Regions from separate parts of the Homo sapiens genome. Here regions 2 and 3 are each linked to region 1. Evidence: promoter capture Hi-C in human tissues and cell types (Jung and others, 2019). All regions are on one chromosome and are shown on one strand. The core of a region is centred on a gene start or on the middle of the fragment in contact, and the rest is flanking DNA. Distances in the headings are between cores, read along the strand shown.

What was found. Contacts are between HindIII fragments. The study calls those that stand out against the background at their distance.
Region 2: a fragment that was not itself captured here is called in contact with the fragment with the promoter of TUBG1 in region 1 in 1 of the 25 tissues and cell types used here (spleen).
Region 3: the fragment with the promoter of NBR1 here is called in contact with the fragment with the promoter of TUBG1 in region 1 in 1 of the 25 tissues and cell types used here (aorta).

What each region holds. Positions count from the first base shown.
Region 1 is chr17:42,608,150-42,611,251 of GRCh38, reverse strand. It overlaps TUBG1 (tubulin gamma 1), which reads right to left and starts at 1,569. Exons shown (of 11, transcript NM_001070.5): 1 at 1,466-1,569; 2 at 1,032-1,144; 3 at 662-829. The coding sequence starts at 1,514. RETREG3 (reticulophagy regulator family member 3) reads left to right here and starts at 1,878. Exons shown (of 9, transcript NM_178126.4): 1 at 1,878-2,166. The coding sequence starts at 1,928. RefSeq lists an enhancer at 1,887-1,996. The HindIII fragment of the contact is 7,237 bases long and covers 1-3,102 here.
Region 2 is chr17:41,970,473-41,973,574 of GRCh38, reverse strand. It overlaps CNP (2'',3''-cyclic nucleotide 3'' phosphodiesterase), which reads right to left. Exons shown (of 4, transcript NM_033133.5): 3 at 1,544-1,683; 4 at 1-100. Among named protein-coding and RNA genes, the nearest start is that of CNP, 5.2 kb to the right of the region's middle. RefSeq lists an enhancer at 283-402. The HindIII fragment of the contact is 5,813 bases long and covers 1-3,102 here.
Region 3 is chr17:43,169,659-43,172,760 of GRCh38, reverse strand. NBR1 (NBR1 autophagy cargo receptor) reads right to left here and starts at 1,547. Exons shown (of 21, transcript NM_005899.5): 1 at 1,459-1,547. LOC101929767 (a long non-coding RNA gene) reads left to right here and starts at 2,358. Exons shown (of 2, transcript NR_110868.1): 1 at 2,358-2,635. It overlaps LOC124900391 (a long non-coding RNA gene), which reads left to right and starts at 1,797. Exons shown (of 2, transcript XR_007065760.1): 1 at 1,797-2,345. It also overlaps a transcript of BRCA1 not described here and the pseudogene BRCA1P1. RefSeq lists enhancers at 1,407-1,516, 1,837-1,946, 2,197-2,246, 2,517-2,726. The HindIII fragment of the contact is 14,047 bases long and covers 1-3,102 here.

The DNA.
Region 1 (3,102 bases), core at 320-2,819:
ACGCCTGCAATCCCAGCACTTTGGGAGGCCGAGGCAGGTGGATCACGAGGTCAGGAGATCAAGACCACCCTGGCTAACACAGTAAAACCCCGTCTCTACTAAAAATACAAAAATTAGCCAGGCGTGATGGCAAGCACCTGTAATCCCAGCTACTCGGGAGGCTGAGGCAGGAGAATCGCTTGAACCCGGGCAGCAGAGGTTGCAGTGAGCTGAGAGCGTGCCACTGCACTCCAGCCTGGGCGACAGAGTGAGACTCCGTCTCAAAAAAAATAAATAAATAAAAATTAAAAAAAAGAAACTATAAAACAGCCTGTCTTCATTGAAATTTGTTTTTGCTGATAAACTAGTTATGAAATGTCCTTTGGTTTCATGGCTTTCTGGATCCTGGAAAGGCAGATAAGGGACTGTGGACCTGTAGTACTTACTTCTAGGGTTGTTGGGAGATTTAGAAAAATTAATATATGTAAAGCACTTAGAATGACCTGGCACACTGCATTAGCTAGTGTAGGCGCTTGACAATATTACATAGTCCACTCCCTGCAGCCAGGTCTCTCCCTCCAGCATTCATACATCCCTGATCCGGTTTTCCCTCTCTTCGGGACGTCATAGAGCCTGTCCCTACCCAGCGAGTTGTGGGCCCTGCCAGGGAATAGGAAACGACCTGGGAGAATCCGCTGGCCCAGTTGTTGCCAGCTCCTCCTCCATGTTCCGACAGGTAGATGTTCTCTGGGTTGTAGAGCTTGGCATAGGGGGAGTTGAGGATGGAGTGGATCACCCGGGGTTCCAAGTCCAGCAGCACGGCCCGGGGGATGTAGTGCTCATCGTCTGCCTGTCAAGGGGAGTCCAGGAGGGGGCCCAATCAGCTAGGGCGGCCCAAGTCCGAAGTCCTCCCAACTCTGGCTCCCTCCGGCCCTCCCTCCTCAAGCCAGCCGCCTGGCCCTACTGCCCAGCGGGGTTCCCAGTACCAGGCCACTCCCTTCCCTTCCGCCCCCTTGGGCAACTGCCGCCCCCGGCCAAGTCGCTGGGGGCACCTGGTAGAAAAAGACGTCCTTGCGGTCAGTGCCCTCGGTGGCGAACTCCTCCACGATGCCCTCGGGGCTGATACCATGCTCGGCGCACAGCTGTTTCCAGAACTCGAACCCAACTGGGGGGAAGGGGCGGGCAGGGGAGAAAGAAGATATCTAGGTCCGGGCAGGTTCCAATCAGGAGCCGGGGGACTGGGCGCCTGCGTCCAGGGATAAGAAGTCAAGCCGCAGGACTCTCCCGTGTCTGAGGAAAGGACTGTACGCCAGGGACTGGGCAGGGGAGGGCCCCTCGGGGTTGGGCAAGTGGACACTGGGTCAGGGATGTCTCGCCTTTCAGAGAACTACGATTCTGGCAAGGACAGATGGAGTCCAGGATCCCACAGCGAGATCCCATTGACCCTAAGGAACCTGGCTAGCTGAGGGGCCGGAGTTTCGCTCACTCTGATTGCCGCACTGGCCCAACTGTAGGGTGATGATTTCCCTCGGCATCGCTCCTCAGGCACCGGCGTTGCAGCCGCTCCCGCCCGCAACGGCGCCGCACGCCAGCCCGCTCGCCGCAAGACGCAGGCGCCAAACAACCAGCTCCACCCACGAACTTCCTCCGCTCCAATGAGAATCGAGTTCTGGCAATGAATGGCACGTCTTTAAGCACTGGCCTTCGTTCATGCAGATTGCGCGTGCGCGGCTCCGGATGCGGCTCGGCGCCTCCGGATCCGGCTCCGCGCCTCAGTGAGGGCGGGGTACGGCGTCCTCCCTCCCCTCTGGGTGGGCGCCTGCTTGGGCCTGCGCGCAAGCGCGCTGTGGTGCGAAGCCACCTCCCCCGCCGAATCGCGCATCTGCGCAGTTGCTGTTATTGTGACTTGTCGGGCCACGGCCCCGGATGTTGTGGCTGCCGCGGGGAGATGGCTGAGGCCGAAGGGGTTCCCACGACCCCAGGCCCGGCTTCGGGGTCGACTTTCAGGGGCCGCCGAGATGTGTCAGGCTCCTGGGAGCGGGACCAGCAGGTTGAGGCGGCGCAGCGGGCCCTGGTGGAGGTGCTGGGGCCTTACGAGCCTCTGCTGAGTCGGGTGCAGGCAGCCCTGGTGTGGGAGCGGCCAGCTAGGAGCGCTCTGTGGTGCCTGGGGCTGAACGCGGCTTTCTGGTGAGAGAACTGGACCCTCGGAAACCCTCCGAGTCCCGAATTCGTTGGTTCCTCTAGGGCTCTACTTCTCGCCTGCCCTGTTTTCTTCGCTGCACTGGCTCCTTCCTGTACTTGCCTAATTTTGCCTCACCTCCTTCCACTCCATCCCGCCTGCAGGCTTCGGCACCCTAGTTCTTCCCAGGGCCGTCCACCCATCTTCTCTGCCTTACCTGTGCCCGCACCCCCGCCCCGCACATCTGGCGGGAGCTTCTGGTAACATCTTGAGCCGCTCAAGAGTGAGCGAGGGCTCCTCTTTTGAGCCCGACAAAGCTGCGTCCCTTTAAAGCCATCACTTCCTTTCTCTTGTCTGCTCAAGTGCAAGTTCTAGATTGTTTCCAGAGGTTTTAGTAGTTTATTGTTGGAGTAGAGGCGTGAAGTCTTGCAAAGGTATCCATAGGTGTGATTATAAAACAAGCTTGAGCGATTCGCATGAATTAGCATGTTATATATCTAGGAAGGAAGTTTATGAAGTCTAAGCGTCAGTGTGAGCCCCCAAAGCTGAAAATTGAAAGAAAATTACAAGCTTTTAAAGAACAGTTAGGAAATGATGACGGAGATTACACGCGTGTCAAAGCCACCTGTGATTGTAACTCCTCCCTGTTCCAAGGAATTAGAGAGGCATCCTTAGCCATGGTTTATAGGCAAGGAAATTGATGTCTAATACTGTGTGTGAGTTTTCCTGAGCTGGAAAAGTAGCACTGTAAATATGCTTTATTTGTGTGTGTCATGCTCTGTGAAAATGGAACTGCTGCTTCTCTCAGTTGTCATCACCTGAAGTGGACCTAGGACTTCATAGGATCTACCAACCATAATTTTGGATTTATTTGTAATGGAGGAGGTTCCAAGGGAACTGACTTATAGGGGGCTTTCTGCTGCTGAATGGATTAAGACTATTCT
Region 2 (3,102 bases), core at 287-2,786, 640 kb after region 1:
GCTGCTCGCTTAACTCCACCCGGGCCCCAGTCGTCTTGGGTGTCACAAAGAGGGCAGAGATGGTCAGCGTGAAGGCCTTGGAGTAAGATTTCTTTAACACCTGGGGAGAGTGAGAAAGAGGGGCCCAAGCTAGAGATGGCAGGCTCTTGAGGAACAGCTGACCCAGGGAGGGTCCCTCCTGGAGGAGAGAAGGGGAAGTCTAACAGAAGTGAGCACAGCTGAGCAGGGGTCGGTATAGGCCCAGCATCCACTAACAACTGCGGCACGCACCTTCCATAGGCGCTCCAGGCTCAAGTGAGAAACACGAAGGCGCTCAGACAGGGCCACACGGGGACAGCCGGACTTCCTGAGGGAGCCCAGCTCCCTGCACACTGGCTTCCGGCCTCAGCGGGCTGGCTGACCTCTCGGTGCCTTGGCTTCATCACCCGTAAAACAGGGAGAACCAGAGCCTACCTCAGAGTTAATGTGGTTATGAGAGTGACTAGGTAAACAGCCCACAGGGGTGTCCGCGCACACAACAGCTGCTACTGTTGGCACCGCTCAGCTTCCCCTGGGACCCAGACAGCGCCCTGGAGGACAGGGTGAGGTCAGACTGAGGTCAGACTCGCCCTTGATGGAAACCTGCTCTTACACTTTGGTTCCCATCTGATGATATGTCTGCTTCTATCTGATTCTTTGAGACAGCCCATCCCATCTCAGCATAAACGCTTTTCTATTTTTGCTCACGATCCCTTGTCCCAACAGTGTCTGGCATGAAATGGGTAGTTAATAAATGCTAAATGAAGGCATGGTTAGGGATGGTAGCTCAGGTGTTACATATTCATTCCACTATGCTAGGGTGCTGGAACCACAGGAGTCAACGAAACTTAAAAACTCGCCCTCAGGGGAGCTTCCATTTGGGAGGACACTCTAGTGAACAAACAAACGATTGTGCTAACCTAGGCAGAGAAGTGGGAGAGTGGGCTTGGGGGTGGACACTTGGAAGTTGGAGACTGTGGATATGGGTGACATGCCTGGCATTCAGGGATCACTGTCAGTGGCTGTGGGTGTAAGGTGCCAGCTGTGTGGTGCAGAAAGGTCTCGTACCCATTAGCCAATAAGCTTCATTATCGTATGAAACTCCCTCACTCTGGGGCCAGGCCAGACCTCAGACCTGGGGACAGGGATGGGGACCTCAGTGCACCAGGCTCCCTGGGGGCGAAGGACTCCTAGTCTTTGGAAGGTAAAACAGGCTCAGAGAGACCAGAGCAGGAGCCCACTGTGGACCAGCATTCTCCATGAATCTGCAGAAGGCGAAGGTGCTTGGGGGCAGGTGAATGCACAGGCTGGCAGTACTGCCAGGGCAGGCTCCTTAGAACCTGCGGCTGAGGTCTATGCAGCTACGCCTGGGGACAGGGGAGCTAGGAGGAGGAGATGCCATTTTTCTTGAGCTGCCATCTGGTTTTTGGTCCCTGCCTGGCACCGGTACCTATCTTCAGAAGATGCTGCAGCCCCTTCTCCCCCAACCTCCCACCTCCCCCATGTGTCCCTGGGGAAGACTCACATCTTGTTGAGCGTACTCCTCTGCCCCGGGAGCCTTCCCGTAGTCACAAAACTTGGTTGTGCAATGCAGCACGCCTGGGGGTCTCTTTCCAAAGTAGGTGACCAAGTCCATCTTCTCCCTGGGCTCATCCCCAGGGACGACTGCCGGGAGAAAACGGGTGCAGTCAGGGCAGGGGAGCAGGGGCATACCAACATCCGCCACCAGGACCACCGAGGCCCAGCGCAAAACACTCGGACACTAAGCATCACCTCTCCAGCAACCCACTACAGCTCATTCATTGGTTAGTTGGTCAAACTAATGGCAACTTTAGAGCAATAAAAAGTTAAAATTCTCAGGCCAGGTGCGGTGGTTCACACCTGTAATCCCAGCACTCTGGGAGGCCGAGGTGGGTGGATCACAAGGTCAGGAATTCAAGACCAGCCTGGCCAAGATGGTGAAACCCCGTCTCTACTAAAAATACAAAGAAATTAGCCAGGCGTGGTGGCGGGCGCCTGTAATCCCAGCTACTTGGGAGGCTGAGGTAGAGAATTGCTTGAACCCAGGAGGCAGAGGATACAGCGAGCCGAGATAGTGCCACTGCACTCCAGCCTAGGCAACAGAGCAAGACTCCGTCTCCAAAAAAAAAAAAAAAAAAGTTAAAATTCTCTGGCTTTACATTGTATAGATCTTTCCATCTCTTCTCCAAACTCTAAGGCATTTGTAACAGAGGCAGGCAGTACAGGCCAAGGGAATCTAAGATTTACTAGCACCACGTCTCAAAGGGGAAGCAAGTCATGGGAAGTGGGGTGGAAAGAAAACAGAGGGCTGGGAACAACATGGTACGGTGGAAACAGCCAGAACACAGTGAATATCTCAGCTCTGCCATGTACCAGCCATCGGCCTCGGGCAAGTGACCAACCCTATCTATCAATCCAGCACAACAGTTAGGGTGACCATATACCCCAGTGTTCCCAGGACCACCAGGGAACTATCAGTAGTGCCCCATTTCACTCAGGGGCCCATCTGGACAAGCAGTCACAACGTCACCATCAGTTTAATACACACCTTGCAGGCCTATGGGGGGGCCTCCTGGTACAGGAAGGGTCTTGGACTATAATGGGGTGACATTATGGGGCTGGAAGACACAAAGAGGAGTGGAGTATCTGTGATTTTGATTTCCAGACTCCACACCTGTGGCTGTCTTTGGAGTCACTCGCTTTTTCCTGTTATGTTCTGAATTGAGTCCCCATGAGGATGTCTCGCCCTCCACAGGGGAGGAAGGCCTCTCCTGAGAGCAGCCTTGCTGGCCCATTACATTTCTCCTGCTCTAATCCTGGGCAGAAAAATCCAGTTTTCCTTTACAAATAAAATAGGCTGGGCATAGTGGCTCGCACCTGTAATCCCGGCAATTTGGGAAATTGAGGCGGGGCGTTTGAGACCAGCCTGGCCAACATGGTGAAACCCTGTCTCTACTAAAAATTTATAAATTAGCCAGGTATGGTGGCGGGTGCCTGTAATCCCAGCTACTTGGGTGGCTGAGGCAGGAGAATTGCTTGAACCCGGGAGATGGAGGTTGCAGT
Region 3 (3,102 bases), core at 298-2,797, 560 kb before region 1:
AAATACTACAATTAAGACTGTCATTTAAAGGCACTTTTTTGAAACCCTAAGACAATTATCCCCCAATTTTCTCCATTCTTTGTTTCTACCAAGAACCAAGTTCACCACCAAAATAATATTAGTCTCTTAACAACAATCCTGCTGACATCTAGTATTCATTCATATGAAATGTAATTATTGGGGTCCTTAAAATTTGAGAATCTTTGTCAATTCCCCAGGACCTTAGGCAAAAAATCAAGGAAATGAAGTGACTCAGTCCGCCAAAAGTGGGTATTCTGAAATATCACTTTCCAACTTCAAGAAACACACTTCCCTACTTGTGAAGGAAATGAATCTTCCTCTCTTTTTCTCAAATTACACAATTGGAAATTTAGATACTCTGGAGCTCCTCCAGCTGGTGGGCCAACTAAGAGAAAACAGGAAGTGGGAGATTCTAGCTTGGCTGGACCATATCCAGGTCTTCATAAGGAACTCTCTTTGGCTGACATGTAAAAAAATTCTTTCAGCAGGAGCATTAATCTTAAACGTGTGTAAACACCAAAGCTATGGTTAACCCTATCTGCCCCTTAGGTCTACAGCCAGTAGAGTCAGATAGCTGGGTCTTAGGCCTTCAGCTTTCATAACTGGCATTATTGTAAGTCCATGCCACTGACTCACCTTTGCTTGGCACAAGTTAGCTTTTCCTCCACGTCGATTTTTTTTTCAGCCTCAACAAAATCCCTTTAATGAAACAGACCTGGCAACCTGAGCTTTGATTACTGTCTCCACCAGAGGCCTTTACAAGCCAAGTTATCCAGGCTTTAAAATGTGTGACCTGAGGCCGGGAGCGGTGGCTTATACCTGTAATCCCAGCACTTTGGGAGGCCAAGGCACGAGGATCGCTTGAGCTCAGCAGTTCAAGCCCAGCCTGGGTTGGTCTTTGAGAAAGCAAGACTCTGTCTCAAAAAAGTGTGGCCTGAAAGCTGAGTGTTTGACAAAAAGGAAAAACAGTGCCTTTCCAAAACCGAAGGTCCCTAACCAAGGAGATCTCTTTAAGGTCTCGAAAAAACGAGGATGGGATGAGAAGGATGTGTAAGTAGTGTCATTTTTTTACTTGCAGAGTTCATCCTAGTCTTCCAGTTTTCGTTTCCTAGCACTCCATGTTCCCAAGACAGTGTCACTACCCCGAGGGCTCTCTCATTTTCTTTGCCTAGGCCCTCATTCCACTGGGGAGTCGTGGCCTTCCATCAGTAGAAGCCGGATGTTCTGACCCACAGACTCTCCAACTCTCCGGCGCTTCTCGCCAACTCGGTCCCTCTGAACATGAAGGGCTCTCTCATCCTGTCACTAAAAAGATTAGCTGTCCCGAAACACGGAAAAAGTCGCCCCTCTTCTTTGCAGGATTCCTCCCTTGAACTTCCCCAAACCCTCTTAGCGTGACGTGACCCCACCCCTAGGTAACCGCAGCTGCTTCCTTACCAGCTTCCCGCCCCCGGGGGGCGCCTGCCGGAGGCCAATGCAAGGACCGTCCGCTACCGGCTCTGCCGCTATCCCTGTGGGGTGAATCTAACATGGCGGATAAAGACAGTAACTAGTCCCCTGTTTCTCCGAGTGTTCGCCAAGATGATTGGCTCTCACCACTTGTCCCTCAAAACGACCACGCCATTGATTGGTGGAGATTGCGTCGATGGGGCGGGGCAGAAGCAACCTGAACCCGAACAACAATAACAAACATTGAGGCTGAGGGGCGGAACTAGGAGTGCGCAGATGTGGGCCAGAGCGGATTTCCCCTTCCCCAGGCAAATTCGGCGCCCACTGCGTCCCCGCAGGCCACTGACCTTAGAGGACTACTTGCCCGAGACTCGTGGGGCTGGATGGGAATCGTAGTCTTCCTAGGAGTTGTAGGTATCTTTTTTTGGCCTAGTCTCTGCTCTCAAGATAGGAGAACATAACAACACTCCAATCCATTACTGTTGACATGTATAAGCCCGCGGAGGTCTCCAATCTATCCACTGGATTTCCGTGAGAATTGTGCCCGCTTTGGTATTGGATGTTCCTCTCCATAAGACTACAGTTTCCAAGGAACAGTGTGGCCAAGGCCTTTCGTTCCGCAATGCATGTTGGAAATAGTAGTTCTTTCCCTCCACCTCCCAACAATCCTTTTATTTACCTAAACTGGAGACCTCCATTAGGGCGGAAAGAGTGGGGTAATGGGACCTCTTCTTAAGACTGCTTTGGACACTATCTTACGCTGATATTCAGGCCTCAGGTGGCGATTCTGACCTTGGTACAGCAATTACTGTGACGTAATAAGCCGCAACTGGAAGCGTAGAGGCGAGAGGGCGGGCGCTTTACGGCGAACTCAGGTAGAATTCTTCCTTTTCCGTCTCTTTCTTTTTATGTCACCAGGGGAGGACTGGGTGGCCAACCCAGAGCCCCGAGAGATGCTAGGCTCTTTCTGTCCCGCCCTTCCTCTGACTGTGTCTTGATTTCCTATTCTGAGAGGCTATTGCTCAGCGGTTTCCGTGGCAACAGTAAAGCGTGGGAATTACAGATAAATTAAAACTGTGGAACCCCTTTCCTCGGCTGCCGCCAAGGTGTTCGGTCCTTCCGAGGAAGCTAAGGCCGCGTTGGGGTGAGACCCTCACTTCATCCGGTGAGTAGCACCGCGTCCGGCAGCCCCAGCCCCACACTCGCCCGCGCTATGGCCTCCGTCTCCCAGCTTGCCTGCATCTACTCTGCCCTCATTCTGCAGGACTATGAGGTGACCTTTACGGAGGATAAGATCAATGCCCTTATTAAAGCAGCCAGTGTAAATATTGAAACTTTTTGGCCTGGCTTGTTTGCAAAGGTCCTGGCCAACGTCAACATTGGGAGCCACATCTGCAGTGTAGAGGGGGGGAAAAAAACGTGACTGCGCGTCGTGAGCTCGCTGAGACGTTCTGGACGGGGGACAGGCCGTGGGGTTTCTCAGATAACTGGGCCCCTGGGCTCAGGAGGCCTGCACCCTCTGCTCTGGGTTAAGGTAGAAGAGCCCCGGGAAAGGGACAGGGGCCCAAGGGATGCTCCGGGGGACGGGCGGGGGAAAGTGAATTTCCGAAGCTAGGCAGATGGGTATTCTTA